Regions from separate parts of the Homo sapiens genome. Here region 1 is linked to region 2. Evidence: promoter capture Hi-C in 16 types of primary human blood cells and fetal thymus (Javierre and others, 2016). All regions are on one chromosome and are shown on one strand. The core of a region is centred on a gene start or on the middle of the fragment in contact, and the rest is flanking DNA. Distances in the headings are between cores, read along the strand shown.

What was found. Contacts are between HindIII fragments. The CHiCAGO score rates a contact against its expected background, and 5 or more counts as called.
Region 1: the fragment with the promoter of SRD5A3 here is called in contact with the fragment with the promoter of AASDH in region 2 in 1 of 17 cell types (total CD8 T cells); the score reaches 5.8 in total CD8 T cells.

What each region holds. Positions count from the first base shown.
Region 1 is chr4:55,344,917-55,347,616 of GRCh38, reverse strand. It overlaps SRD5A3 (steroid 5 alpha-reductase 3), which reads right to left and starts at 1,375. Exons shown (of 5, transcript NM_024592.5): 1 at 1,060-1,375. The coding sequence starts at 1,280. RefSeq lists silencers at 793-1,062, 1,273-1,442 and an enhancer at 894-1,654. The HindIII fragment of the contact is 3,550 bases long and covers 1-2,419 here.
Region 2 is chr4:56,386,215-56,388,914 of GRCh38, reverse strand. AASDH (aminoadipate-semialdehyde dehydrogenase) reads left to right here and starts at 1,424. Exons shown (of 15, transcript NM_181806.4): 1 at 1,424-1,553. RefSeq lists enhancers at 1,080-1,129, 992-1,498, 1,160-1,529, 1,499-2,006. The HindIII fragment of the contact is 3,410 bases long and covers 1-2,700 here.

The DNA.
Region 1 (2,700 bases), core at 126-2,625, 1.0 Mb after region 2:
TTTCTCTGTTGCCCAGGCTAGAGTGCAGTGCCATGATTATAGCCCACTGCAGTCTCCAATGCCTGATCTCAGATGATCTTCCTGCCTTCATTCCAAGTAGCTGGCACTACAGGCACACGCCACCAAGCCCTGCCAATTTTTTGTATTTTCAGGAGAGACGGAGTCTCACTATATTTCCCAGCCTGGTCTCGAACTCCTGAACTCAAGCGATCCGCCTGCCTCAGCCTCCTAAAGTGCTGGGATTACAGGCGTGAGCCACTGCGCCCGGCCTAAGATGCATCTTAAGGGGCACTGTTCTATTTCTACCATCTCGAATAGTATTTGGCCAACTCTTTCCAGCTATGTCCTGAATTTAAAGTGGAAAAAGGAGAAGAAGAAAATTATAACAGGTCTCTATTTAAAACCTGACGATTTAATCCTTCGCTGAACTGGGTTACAGAATTTTTCGAAAGTCAAATGGAGCTTCGGGACGGGCCTGCCTATGACCTGCACCTTGGGCCACCTTCCCCAGGGGCACCTGCCAAGGTGCAGGTTAGGGCGACTCAGTCCTTTGTCCCCACTGCAAGGGTTGGGAAGAGAAACGGGGGAAGCCGAGGCCGAAGAGCCGGCCTAACTTCATTTCCACAAATGATTCCCGGTGACCTCAAGTTAGAGTATGAGCCACTGGAGTGCAGGGTACGGGAAAAAGGAGAATTTGGGGCAAGGGGCACTTCAATTTGCCGCCTAAATTCGCATGACCAGGCCTAAATTCGGATGCGTTGCCATTTCCCACAGGGAAAGGCTCCGTGCGGCTACCAGTTCACATTCCTCCAGCTGAGTGCAAGCGGCTCCGCTCTCCCTCGGCGTCCGCGGACACCCGGGCACTGCTCCCCGGAGCCACGCAGCAGCCGGGGCATGGCCGGGGCCAGGCCGAGGGAGCGCCGTGCTGCGCCCGGGAACCCGCCAGGGCCTCCCAGGCCGGGTCCCGCCTCTGCTGCCCCCTGCTGGCTGCCCGCGAGCCGGGGCGCCCCGAACTCTCAGCGCCTTGACCACCGCGGCTCGGGACCGGGGCGCGGTTACCTCTTGGGGACATCAAAGGCTCGGCAGGCGGCGGGGCGCGACGGCTCCCCACACTTGGTTTTCCCATAGCGGATCAGGTCCTGGAAGATCGCGCAGCCCGGGAGCAGGCCGGGCGGCAGGAGCTGCAGCAGTAGGGTCAGCAGGAAGGCGGCGGTCAGCGTGAGCCACACCGCGCGCAGCGGGTTCAGCGCCGAGTGCTCGGCCTCCGCCCAGGGAGCCATGGCCCGCGTGCCCGCCTTCCGCGCTGCTGGCGCCCCCACCGCCCGCTAGCCCGCGGAAGAGCGGCCACTAGCGCGCGGCGCACCGGTCTCAGCCTAGCGGGACGTCGGTGACGCGGCGCGGGGCGGGGACGCGCAGAGCCCCTCCCGGACTCGCCGCTCAGCCGCGGAGGTCCTTGGTCCTGGTCGCGCTGGCGCTGGGTGGTCGCTCGCAGTCCCTAATCTGGGCATGGGGATTCTTAGATGGAGCTCCAGAATATGATTCATCAGAAGCAAAGACGCAAAACAGACGAGACCACGTGTCTGCCACTCTTATCAACATTATCTCCAAAGCAAAAAATGGAAACCTTACATGTTGCATTTTAGTTTATTTAGCTAAATTATGATACACTGACATGTTAGAATATCATGCAGTCATTGAGAATTATTATGACGAGTGTAGAAACAGGGAAAGCTGTTTAGGAAACAATATGTGAAGTGAAAAACAAAACCAACCATAAAAATACATAGCTATGATTGCAAACAACTATATTAATATGAATGTGTGTATATATGGATAAAGAAGGCAGATCACACCCAAAAATGAATAATTATGTTAGGATGCTGGAAATGTGTTGGATATGTGTATAATGTAAACATGTAGACAAGTAATTGCACATAATAATAAAAATCATAGTGGTAAAAACTGTGTTTAAAAAACAGCAGTCGCTTACCAATAGGGTTCCAATCCTTAGAAGCAAAGTTTTTAAATTCCATCAGCTGTTTCCTGTAACATTTATCTCAGGTAGTGACAATGCTATTTATTGACTCACTGATTTTAAACAACACTGATTTTATTTACTATAAGTGAAAATCTAGCTCTTTTAAGTATTTAAAAGTCTTTAAAATGTTAATTCTGAAGTATTGTATGCCTACTGTATGACAGGCATCATTTTGGATACTGAGGACAGAGGGGTTTACAAGATAATTGTCACTGCTTATTTGGAGCTTACATTTTTGAGATTGGGTGGTGGGTGAGAAGTGGAAGAGGGGAGAGGTAGCCAACTCATCACCCTTACCCCAATGAGATACCCGATATGTGTGTTGAATAAACATCAGGGTGGGTAGGTTAGTGGGACTTTGGACTGTTAAATGAGCAAGCTTTTAAAGTTTTCTTCTTTGTGCAAAAGACACCTAAGGCTTTACCCGTCCTTTGACAGCCAGGTGATTAAGGATGGTTAAATTGGCATTCTAGCTAGGACAATGAGGCCTTATTGAGTGATCCTGGATCTCTTTTGCGGGAGTCACCCTTTCACTGTTTCTTTCTTTTCTTTTTTTTTTTTTTGAGATGGAGTCTCGCTTTGTCGCCCAGGCTGGAGTGCAGTGGCCTGATCTCTGCTCACTGCAAGCTCTGCCTCCCAGGTTCACACCATTCTCCTACCTC
Region 2 (2,700 bases), core at 175-2,674:
GAAGAAAAAAAAAGGAAACTTGAGGGAAATAGATACTGCAAGGGAAGAAAAACTTTAAAAAAGGTATCATTAATATCAGAGAGTTGGATGATGATACTGGAATAATAAAACATCATTTTGGCAGCAATTCAGAGTCAATCAGAGGCAAACAAAACTGAAAACGTTTTAGGAAAAAGCTGACCAAGAAGACCTGAACTAAAGTAGCAGTAATGGCGATGAACATGACACTTAAAAAACGCAGGTTCTAGGCCCCTCACTAGAAAACTAGGGGATGAACCTCCGGGGATGGAGTCCAGGAATTTGGAATCTTCTAAAACATCACCACCGGCAATTCTGATGTAGCCAGCTGGGTGCTGGTCTCAAGACTGAGAACTAGAGGACATAGGGTCTAATCGGATGTAAGAGGTTAAGAAAGTGGGAAGGTTGATAACTGTCTGGCTGGGTGGATGATGGTGTCATCCCAACGTAGAAACATAGAAACATAGACAAGATACACTTTTGCCCACTTCCAACCTAAATACATAAATAAGGCTGTGTTAGTTTGAGTAGTCCATGGTACATCTTGGAAAAGTATAGTTGGCATGTGGAGATATTTTTTGCTTAGATTAGAAGCACAGTTTCTTGTCACCAACAACTACGGCTGCGAGAGCGTCCTATGCTTTTTTCTCACGTACTGTTTTGATGCAGAGCTGTCTTCGCAGTCCCTCCCCCGGCTAAAACCCCCCAAACAAAAAAATCCCGATTATTCTGCCACCAGACAGTAGCTTTAAAACACCTCTGTTATTGCCCTTGACGCTTATTGTAATAATTGACATGTCTCCAACTGTAACAATTCCCTTGGAAACAGAAAGTTCTATTCAGGCATATAGTTTACAAAACTCCACCTCGGACCTGCTTTAATTTCTTTACAGGTCCTACTAAATGCTCCTGTCAAATTCCTTAGTTATCGTTTCAATCTGCTTCCCAATTAAAATGTCAGCATCATGATGACAGGAACGTCGTTTGCAGGCGTCACTGCTGCAGCCATATCTCCAGCACGTTTCCAGAAAATGTCATTGGTTGAAAGCAATAACTCTCCTATTTCACAATGATTTCATCTCTCTTCACATCAACCCTAGGTGATGTTTTTATTCTCACCTTATGAACGAGAATACTGCGGCTCAAAATTCAAGAGTCTTGCCCAGAGTTTTTTGGCAAGTACGAAAGGGTTATGGCTCCAAACTGGTTAGCTCCGAAGTCCTTGCAAACCCTGTCCGAGACCATGCGCGACCCCAAGGAGCGCCTGAGCAGATAACCAAAAGTGAAAAAGCCTATAGACCTCTTCACTCAAGTTAGCGCCTCGGCTTCAGGAGAGGCAGCGCCAGCTCCACGCAGCCGGCCCGGGGTCGCTCGCACTGACGTCACGTAGCGACGCGGAAGATTTACGTATGGTGCCTCGCTCTGGGATAGCTTTACGGCTTCTGGGAGCTGCTGCTTCGCTGTGAGAAGTATCCGCGACGAGCTATCCGGGAAAGGGCCGAATGCGATCAAACCTAATCCGCGAGACTTGCTAAGTGAGTCGCGGCAGGGCGCGGTGTCCGGCGGGGGTCTGTGTGAAGGAGGCGAAGTGCCGCTAGGCCTGAGCCTGCTTCCACATACATTTGCTCAGCTTCAGGACCACTGCCTGACCTCGGATTTGATACATCGGGGTCTGGCGTGCTGGTGTGGTGCAGACTAACCCTGACCTGTGTGTACACTCCTGCGTCACTAGCCTCCGCCCCTCCATTCAAATGGAAATAAGTGTGCTCCGCGCTCAGCTACCCCCTAGAGTGGTTTCGAAGAGCAATGAAGAAATGTTTAGGAAGCTGTAAATTGCATTGTTACTCGTTGCATACCGTAAATTTAGAAGCCGGGGAATTGGGAAAATAAAGTTTCTAGATTATTTATCCATTTTTAAAACAGCCAGTGGCCTAGAGAGAGGCCCCATAGCAATTGAATTTGCTGACACTCTTAAGATCTTTGTTGACTAAATAGCAGCTTCTACAGTTGTAGCAAGTAAATTTATTCCTTTTACATGTAAAATCTGCTTACCAGAGTTTGCTTTTTTTTTTCCTTTTTTTTTTTTTTTTTTTTTTTGAGACGGAGTCTCGCTCTGTCGCCCAGGCCGGACTGCGGACTGCAGTGGCGCAATCTCGGCTCACTGCAAGCTCCGCTTCCCGGGTTGACGCCATTCTCCTGCCTCAGCCTCCCGAGTAGCTGGGACTACAGGCGCCCGCCACCGCGCCCGGCTAATTTTTTGTATTTTTAGTAGAGACGGGGTTTCACCTTGTTAGCCAGGATGGTCTCGATCTCCTGACCTCATGATCCACCCGCCTCGGCCTCCCAAAGTGCTGGGATTACAGGCGTGAGCCACCGCGCCCGGCCTTTTTTTCCTTTTTAAGGTCTCAAACATTTGGGCATTAATAAGTTTAGTATTCTCTACTGCAGAGAATGTTATTTGTGATTCAATGAATGAAAATGAAAACCTGAGACAAGAAGAATGGATTTTACCTTAAATGTCTGTAGCAACCATTGGGAAAATGGAAAGAAACATCTTAATTATCGTATAGATGTGTAGGTACCCTTCTGCGCTACCTGTATGTTGCGAAATGAACTCATTCCTCATAATTTAAGCGCCTGCTGCAGAAAGCCTCCCTTATATTTACATAATGATCATTGTAT